Linked DNA regions of Homo sapiens: regions 1 and 3 are each linked to region 2. The links are contacts of gene promoters, found by promoter capture Hi-C in human tissues and cell types (Jung and others, 2019). All regions are on one chromosome and are shown on one strand. The core of a region is centred on a gene start or on the middle of the fragment in contact, and the rest is flanking DNA. Distances in the headings are between cores, read along the strand shown.

What was found. Contacts are between HindIII fragments. The study calls those that stand out against the background at their distance.
Region 1: a contact is called between a fragment that was not itself captured here and the fragment with the promoter of NKX2-8 in region 2, in 9 of the 25 tissues and cell types used here (H1 embryonic stem cells, bladder, heart left ventricle and 6 more).
Region 3: a contact is called between a fragment that was not itself captured here and the fragment with the promoter of NKX2-8 in region 2, in 4 of the 25 tissues and cell types used here (H1 embryonic stem cells, heart right ventricle, mesendoderm cells and 1 more).

What each region holds. Positions count from the first base shown.
Region 1 is chr14:36,647,468-36,650,515 of GRCh38, forward strand. No RefSeq gene overlaps it. Among named protein-coding and RNA genes, the nearest start is that of PAX9, 13 kb to the right of the region's middle. RefSeq lists an enhancer at 1-714. The HindIII fragment of the contact is 7,467 bases long and covers 1-3,048 here.
Region 2 is chr14:36,581,190-36,583,930 of GRCh38, forward strand. It overlaps NKX2-8 (NK2 homeobox 8), which reads right to left and starts at 1,425. Exons shown (of 2, transcript NM_014360.4): 1 at 1,044-1,425; 2 at 1-275. The coding sequence starts at 1,200. RefSeq lists enhancers at 1-5, 6-816. The HindIII fragment of the contact is 13,278 bases long and covers 1-2,741 here.
Region 3 is chr14:36,506,525-36,509,481 of GRCh38, forward strand. All of the region lies in intron 1 of SFTA3 (surfactant associated 3), which reads right to left. Among named protein-coding and RNA genes, the nearest start is that of NKX2-1-AS1, 11 kb to the right of the region's middle. RefSeq lists an enhancer at 2,269-2,924. The HindIII fragment of the contact is 4,246 bases long and covers 1-2,957 here.

The DNA.
Region 1 (3,048 bases), core at 28-2,527, 66 kb after region 2:
CGGCTTTCCGCGCATACGGAGGTTGCTGGGGACCCCGACACCTGCGCGCCCTCGACTGGGGCCCGCTCCAGCAGTGAAGACCCAGGCCCTTCCCTGGGCCGTGGCTGCTCTTGGTGCCTCATGGGAGCGCCCGGGGTAGGGACTCGGCTAGTGACCTGTAGGACATGAGGGGCGAGCTGGGAGCCGATTCGCCCACGGCGTCTCCTTCGCCATGGAGGCCCCCCACCCATTCCACTCCGGGGTTGCGGCCACGCACCATAAGAGCACCTTCAGGTCTGAGCTCTTTAGGGGTGGGAGTAGGCAGTTCGTGAGTCCGGGAAGGCCTGCGGGGTTTCCCGCCTGCTGCGGACTTAGCGTGGGGCCGACCGGGGCTGGCGAGGGCTGGCGAGGACTGGCGGGGACCCGCGGGGCTGAGCCAGCTCTCGCGAAGCCCTCAAGTGAGGAACGGCGCTTGTGGCTGCGCGCTCTCCGCAGCCAAGTTGCAGGGTCCAGCAGGGGCTCAGGTCCTGTTCCCTCCGCAGATCCCGGATCTAGGGCTCTAGTGGTCTCGGCCGGAGGGAAGGTGACGCGCAGTGGGCGCAGACGCAGAGTGCGGGGCGCCGAACGTGGGAAGGAGCGGGTTCAGCGCGCTGGTGAGAGTTTCAGGAAATCCGGGAGAGGGCGGTATTTACCAGTCCCTTCCCCGAGAGCAACCAGGCAAATCGGGGAAGGTTAGAGGTGGGGGACCTGCCTGAGCCGGGACAAAAAACTTTGGAGCTAGGGCCTTCTAACCCTGGAGACTTGCCGACTCCGGGGCGGGCTCTCGCACTCAAGTCCCGAGATGGGATGATTTTCCAACTTTCGTCCAGCCTCTCCTTCCGCTCCCGCCGCTCTGCTAGCACTCCCGCACTCTCTCCCTGGGTCACAACCCTCGCCTGCGGAATACCTGTCTGAAGGGCGCGTCAGTAGAAGCTTCGTTTCATACTACCTTTCTTACTGTTCTCTTCATCTAAATCGCAGGACATTATTCTCGGCTTCATTTCCACATAGCATTCGGCAGTGGACAAGGAGTAGGCGGACCCGAACCTGAACCTGACAGCTGATGCCGTGAAGTGGACACTTGAAGTTCTTGGTTTGGCTTTAGGGAGCGTTTAGGGAATGTGTTAGGCAGCAATCGGGCAAGCATGAGCTGTAGCCCAACCCTTCCCTCCGTGGGAAAATTCAAGTTAGGACGCAATGCGAGGCCTCTTAAATCTTTAAGATCCTCGGGTCAGCTCAAAGAGTCTTTAGCAATTCGTTGTTTTGTCTTGAGACCATTATCGGTCCCTAAGCACCTAATTATTTAATGGCAGCCCTCTGGGTATATCGGGTAGACTGATAGGTCTTATCTAACATTCAAACACAAGTTTCTGGAGGAAACTCTCATCTGACTTCCTCCTTTCCCACCCGCCGCCCACTGTCATTTATTTTATTAAATGGAACCCATTTAAAATCCAAATTTATAATTATTAAAAAGCAGTCTTATTACATATTCTTGAAGATTTGGTTGTGTACGATCATTTAATCATGTAGTTTAATTTCTGTGTTGTTCCCACATTGCCAACTTGATGGAGGAGAGCAGACCCGAGGACTTTTCAACCTCCAATAAAAAAGAAGAGGACTTTATGGCTGGGGTGAAAAGGGGCTGGTGAGCTACGACAATGGGGCAGCATAGCTTTACTATGTGCAAAAGCATTCAGACACATGGCGACCCTTTTGCAATAAAACTTTATTGATGATCGTTTGAAAGTTATGGCAACTCCAAGGTTATAAAACTTGTCATAAAATACCAAGCAGTCATTAGTTTACCTGACCTCATTTCAATATAAACTTCCACAAAACATTTTATTTTGTTCCTTCTTATAAGTGGAGAAAAGAAGTTGAAGAGGTTAAATACAGCGGCCCATTATTGAGGATCCAAAATCTGCAATTTGACACTCTGACCTTCATCCCTGCAAATAAAGCAGTAAAATTTACATTTTATTCTTTAATGTTCCGTTATTGCAGAAAAGTTAATAGTGTGTAAATGTTATTGTAGAAAAGATAATAACAGCTATGTTTTAGTTCCAACTGCCCATTTTTAGCACATAACCTGTGTTTAATTTTGGATGGAGACTTTTTCCTCTTTGGAAGATTTGTAAGATATATTTAACAATTATTAAAGAATATTTGCTCCCCGAGCTATGCAATAGAAGTCTAAGAAGCAAATGGCCACATGTTGTCATGTGACCTGAAGAGTTGTTCAAAATATTCAATTAGTATTTACAGCTATTGAGAGGTTAGATGACTAATCACTACCTCTTGCCACCCTCAGTCATGAGCTTAAAGAAAGGCAGCTGCCCTGAGATTGGCACGTACAACTATACTACAGAAAATAACCCAAACTGATGTTCCAAGAAAGCTCCAGGAGATAAACTGGAGTTTGTCAAAATCATCATTTCTGGTCCAACTGTATGAGTGGACTTAAACCATGGATCAGAGAACAGCCACAGAACACTGATAACTTTGAGTGGCTTCTCATCGCTCCAAACTCCACTTTGGATTGGCTGAAGCTCGTGTTTCCTTAATGCTGTGTAGCTAAGGCCAATCTACCTGCTTTTGGGGATTTGTGAGCAAGTACAGATGGCAAAGGTTGACTTTGTGTTAGCTGCATGGTGATTTCTCCAAAACATGTAAAAGTCTGGATATACTTTTTCACGGATTGTTTAAAATATAAGCTCCAAGATTGATCCAGGCATATATGCATTTATGATGGGTTTAGGAATCTAGATGAAGAAAGCTAACTCTTTAGGACCTCGCTGGAACTCTTCTTGGTAATGTTATGCTTAGTTTCCTGGTGTGCTTTCAAGTATTTCATGGAATTTTAATGAGAAAACAACATTTTAAAAACCAAAATCTTATGTAAAATGCTGCTTTCTTCTAGGGAGTGTATGGGTGCAGAGTGTGTGTGTGTGAGGGGGGTGAGAGAGAGAGAAGAAAGAGAGAGAAAGAAAAAGAAAGAGAGAAAGAAAAAGAAAGAAAGAAAGAAAA
Region 2 (2,741 bases), core at 175-2,674:
AGCGCGAGCGCGCTTCAGCTTGTAGCGATGATTCTGGAACCAGATCTTGACCTGCGTGGGCGTGAGGCGAAGCAGGCTCGCCAGCTGCTCGCGCTCGGGCGCAGACAGGTACCGCTGCTGCCGGAAGCGCCGCTCCAACTCCAGCGTCTGCGCCTTGGAGAATAGCACCCGCCGCTTCTTCCTTTTCTCGGCGTCCGAGCCCGGAGACGCGGGCCTAGCGGACGGCCGCTGCGACGAGTCTGGCGGGCTGGTCTCCAGGCTGCTCTCGTCCGAGGCTAGGGACAGCAAAGGAGACACGGGTGGGTGAGACGCCGGACCCTACGAGGGCCTGCTGCCCTTCTGGCGCGGGCGTGGAGGCACTGGCCAGAGGGCACGCCCACTAGCCCGAGACTTTCGGGATGAGGCCATTTCCTGAGTCCACATCTGGACATCCACCTCTCCGAATGCGGTGACCTCATTCATACCACAGCGGTCATCAGCGGGCCTGAGATCGTGCCCCGAAAAAACCCACCCCGGGGCCCTCTTAACATGTCCGCACCGGTAGTTGCGCTGGCCGACCAGTTTATCACAAGCTGGGTCACCAGCGCCGGCCTCCTCCAGGTCGACTGCACTGCAGTGTGCCGAGGTTTGCGGAGCCCTGAGTGGGAACGGGGTGGGGGTAAACTCGCCAACACTGGCCATCCCAGACGGAGGCCTGGAGATCGTGGCCGTGTTTTCAGGCATGGAGAGGGGGCGGGGGGTGGGGTGGGGGCGGCAGGTGGCGGCGCGTTTTAAATTTCAATTATTCCGACCTCTAGAAATCGTCAGACACAGAAACCCCAAATCTCGGAGCACCAGTGCCAGGCAGGGATCTGCTCTTAGGATGTGCCGACCGGGATGAATGCGTTAGGGGTTCGAGGACAGGGCTCCCGTTTCCAAGACTGAGGAAATCTAGACTCTGGGCTGGGATTTCGGCTTTCCGGCCCCTCGTGGGCTGGGCCCTTGATTCTGCTGCCCCACGCCTCCTACCTCCCACCCCGCACCGCAATCCACCACGCACTTACAAGGGTAGTGGCCGCGCTCCGAATCCAGCCAGGCGGCGCAGGGGTCGGGCTGGGGGGCGCGTGGTTCTGGCTCCCGCCTCGGCAGGTGTTGCGCGTCCTGCTCGGGTAAATCTAGAAGGCTGCGCACGGTGAAGCTCAGGCGTCCAGAGGTGGCCATGGCCGAGGAGGGGAAGGAGGCGGGGGCAGGGCAGGCTGGGAACGGAGGGGCGGCCGGGACGCCGCTCCTACGGATGGGCGTGGGAGGCGCTCGCCATGCGCTGGCAGCCGGGATATTAGCGCATTTACAGCGGAATCTCTGTTTATATAAACAGCTCTTCCCACCCAGGCCGCTTTGAAAGCCGAGGTCCGGGTCTCCAGGGTGTTAAGTACCTGAATGAGCACTGGACCAGAGCCGGGGCGAGCCCGGAAGGTGCCACCTCCGCCCCCGCCCCGCCCCGCACCCCGCCCCGCACCCCGCCCCTTGGCGCCCAGTTACCTCCCAGAGGCTGCAGGAAGCAGCATTTGGCATTAGCGATTCTGTCTGATTAGCCCAAAGTGGGGACAGATAATGGGGATTGTTACCAGTGAATAACATCTTGGGTGGCGAGCGGTGGCCACCACCCGCCTGACCCAGCCCCAGCTTCCTCCTCCTCCTCCTGGGCTGACTTGAGGCCAGGCCCCGCGGGAGCGCCGGGAAGGGTGGGGGTGGCAGGGGTGGGTTTATTAGCACCCAGGAATTTATTCCCTGTTTGCTTTATTCTTCGAGCTTGTTTGCTGGAGTGGTAGTTTCCCGCAATTATCCAGAAAGTGATTTACAAAGCGGCGTTAAACTCTGGCGCGCTCCCTTTCTCTTTTTGGTTGGGCCCCTCTAAGATTCAGGATGACAAGTTTCAGGAGGGCGTAAAGATTAGCCTGGCCCTGCCAGCATTGGCCCAGGGGTTTCAACGGCCGCTGGGAGCCTCGGATCACACCATACATCCCCCTAACAGCCTCAGAGGTGCTGAGGAAGGGCTGGGACAACATTCGGAGCCCCAGCTCCACGTCTCCACAGGCCGGCAAAACAGAAGAGGCTTGTAGCCAAGCTACTTAGGTCTACAGTGCCTGTCTCTTTGGCCCAGCTTCGCCCGGCCGCTGCCGATCTCGGAGCTCGGAGGCCGAGCTCCACAAATTTGGGTCCAGGCCCGCTTTAGAGCCCCTGGGCGGGGGCGCTTCTCAGGGCATCCTGTGAGGGCTTTGAGGCCTCCTTGGAGTCGCCAGATGAACTGGTGCCGCCTGTGCGCCTTGGCCCCATAGCCTCAACGGCACTCTCACTGCCTGGGCTTTGGTCTTTGCCCAGGAGCCTGCCCATGGCCTACGCTCCCCGCTCGCAGCATGGCAGACCCTGACGAGGCTGCCCGCCTTGGTCCGGGAATGGACCGATCGGGAGAATTAGGACAGGGCCTACCCGGCAGAAAATACCACCGGCCATGGGTTTCTCTGGGATCTTCTAGTTTCCACAGTTCCACCCTAGAAAATGATCAATGTAGGAGGCGCAGGGAACAGGCCGCCGTGGATACATTTTGTTGGGCCATGGCCTAGCTCTGGCCGCGCTTCAATCTACAGAGGAACGCCCTCTCAGAGGCCTCTCCTACTGAAGCTAGTAGTTTGGATATTTAGTTGCTAAATTGTAGCGAAGGGCTCTGTACTTGGGTGGCTGCACCAGAAGTCCTGGCTCCTCCC
Region 3 (2,957 bases), core at 110-2,609, 75 kb before region 2:
CTGGCAGGACAGTCCCCCTTCTTAAAGCCCGGAAGAAGGGAAGGCAAGCTTTGCTAGTTTTTGCCCCTCAGCTCAGAGACAGACTGCCATACACACATCTGCTTCCCCCTTATCCCTCTCTATGCCCCTCCAGGGGAGGCATATGCCTTGGGTCCCGGCTGTACTCCCTCCTCCCCATCTACTGACATTAATTGATTTTCTCCAGGCTGCGGCTTCTCTTTGCTTCTATCGTTTTTCTCCCTAGTCCTTTGATAGGCTGACCTTGGCTCTTCTCTGGTCTTCTTACTCCCCAACTGGTCTCCCATATGGACCTTACTGGCTTTCATTCTTTATTACTTAGCCTATCCACTTTCTCTACTTTTCCTTTTAGTACTGACATTAGGATAAACAATACCGAATTGCCTATAAAGTAGGATTGCAGCCATGACTGGAGTTGGACAAGAAAGCAAAGAAAACATCGGCATTGGAATAAAGAAATGGAAAATGGGGAAGGATGAAGAAACAGAAGAAAAGTAGATAATAAAGTCACACCAGGTTGTAAATACAAGAATAAGATGCTTGATGTTCCTGCACATGATCTTGGGGTCCTAATGAGGGTCTCACATACCTACACTGGGGAGGCAGGAGGGGTCTCCCTGAGGAGGGCAGGGTGAAGTTTCTTCTCCCTGACTGGGATTGCACCTGAAGACTTGGGCTAGCGAGCCGCTGTATATCCTGGATCCGGGAAGGTGTGAAGGGATCAACCACCACTTCTAGAAATAGTCATGTGGGCAATATATCTCTATGGGGTTTTCAGATGGCTGCAACTTCCTACCCTGGATCTCTGCTGCTCTTGGGCACCACATTCCTGTCCACCCAGCCAAGCCTGGTCTGAGGCTGTGTCCTTAGTCAGGGGAGCCTGTTTCCCTTTCCCCTGGCAGACTAGGTCCTGTGGGTCCCAGCGTCCTCTTCACCTCCTGCCAGTTGTAGGAGTTCTGTCCTCCCATTTTGCGGAACCAGGGAGCCTGTGGGAGGCCTTACCTCCACTGCCAGCCCCACCTCACCCCAGGGCAGATTAGTGCCTCTGAGCCACTCAATTATCCGCAGGATGGGTGGGGGGGGGGCGGGGAGGGGAATCTAGAATTTATAGCTGGGGGTGGAAGGCGCAGTGAGGGAGGTACAGGGAGGAAGAGTGAAATATTTAGATCTTTGGGGTTCCTGCCATTTGGCCCCTATTAAAGAGAACCCTGGGGCTTTTAGAATGAGTTTTGCATGAAATTGAACAAGCAGGGCCATGAGCTGTACAGAATCCCACCTCCACCCCCCAACATACACACACCTTATTTATTGGTTCTTCTGAGATCTTCCCAGACGCAAAAACTCTTTACAAGGATATCAAAAAATACAACACCTGCCTACGAGGCACCACTTTGAGGAAGCTAATAAATTACCCCCCTTTGAAACAAAAATGGAATCAGCATTAAGCACATACTATTATTAGGTTGAGTTTCAGTCTCCTAGAAAATTCGTTAGATGTTGATATCTGGGGAGAGAAGGAATCTCTCTTTTCCTTAAGAAAATTCACGAGGGAAACAGCAGTAGTTCGCTGGCTTTGTTTGGTTTCGTTTATTTGTACAAAGAAAGATTGTGCGTTAAGATCTTTTTTAAAAATCCCTGCAAGTTAGAGTTTGCATCATCGTCGTGACCTAGTGAACTAATATTTGTATATTCTGGGATCGAAATTCCGAGGAAGTTTCTGCTCTTCCGCACACCAGACTTGCCGGTGTGGTCTCCAGGAGGGGTTGGGGGCCGCGTCCTCAGGGGGCGCGCGGCCGAGGCTGTTCCCAGCGCGGGAACGGGAGGGAGAACCTGGGCAGGGGCGGGGCGGGGCGGGGCGCGGGGACCTGGGTACGCGGAGACGCGGGGCGGGCGGGGGCCGAGAGCGAGGCTGCCGGCTGGGTGTTGGGAGAGAGGCCGCGGGTGGACGGGGTAAGGACTGGGACTGGGGAGACTGAGAGCTGGGGGGTGCGGGGAGGATGAGGCTGCGGACAGGAAACGAAGGGCCTGGGACAGCTGCTTCTCTTGGTCCTAGAAACCAAACTTTCGTAGCGAGAGACCCTAAGACAGCTCGAGATTTCAAGTGTCCACACTTCTAGTTTAGACATTTGGCAACCAATTCGGAACAGCCGGGCCGCGAGGGGCCCCCAGGTCTTTGGCGGCGTCGTTGGGAGGCCGCGGAGTTGTCCCTGGGCTTCCCTGAAGGCCCCGCAGACTCCCCGCCAGTCCCGGCCACACCCAGCCAGGGCTTTGCAGCTCCAGCCTGAGAATGTTAGCCCCGGCAACCCCTTCTGGCGGTTGTTCCTTTAAAAACCAATTCATTTTTTCCATCAAGTCTTCTACCCAATGGGTAGACTCTTCGTTAAATGACTGTTAACCAGTACTGAGGAGAAGCACAATCAACATAGTTTCTCTGTCACCTTTCTTGCCGGTTTTTTCCTCCCAACCATGGAGTCTCCATTTTCTAAGCAATTAAATTATATATTCAACAGGAACATTCCATTTAAAATGGTTCGGGACAGAAGACTGATGCACAAGGTCTGAAGCTGGAAGAAAATATTTAGTGCTTGCCTACAGATTCTGTCACCCATCATCTGCTCGGAATGCGCTCCGTATCTTTCAGCGTGTCCGGCTCTTATGATTGCAAATGGCCCTGTTTTCAAATGGAAATAAGACTTGCAAACTGATTATGTGTATTGAATCAGAATCACTCGCTAGATCCTCTTGTTTAAAATGTATTGAAAAAAGGATGATGGGTGCAGACCTCTGTAACCAGCTCTGTCTCTTCTCTGGGAGGTCGATCTATTTTGCAACTTTTTGCCATTTGAGCGTGTTTCAGCCAGATAATTACGTTGCCATTGTGTTACCGGCCCAAAGCTCAGACAGGGTACACACACCACCACCCAGCCGTCTCCCAGGCC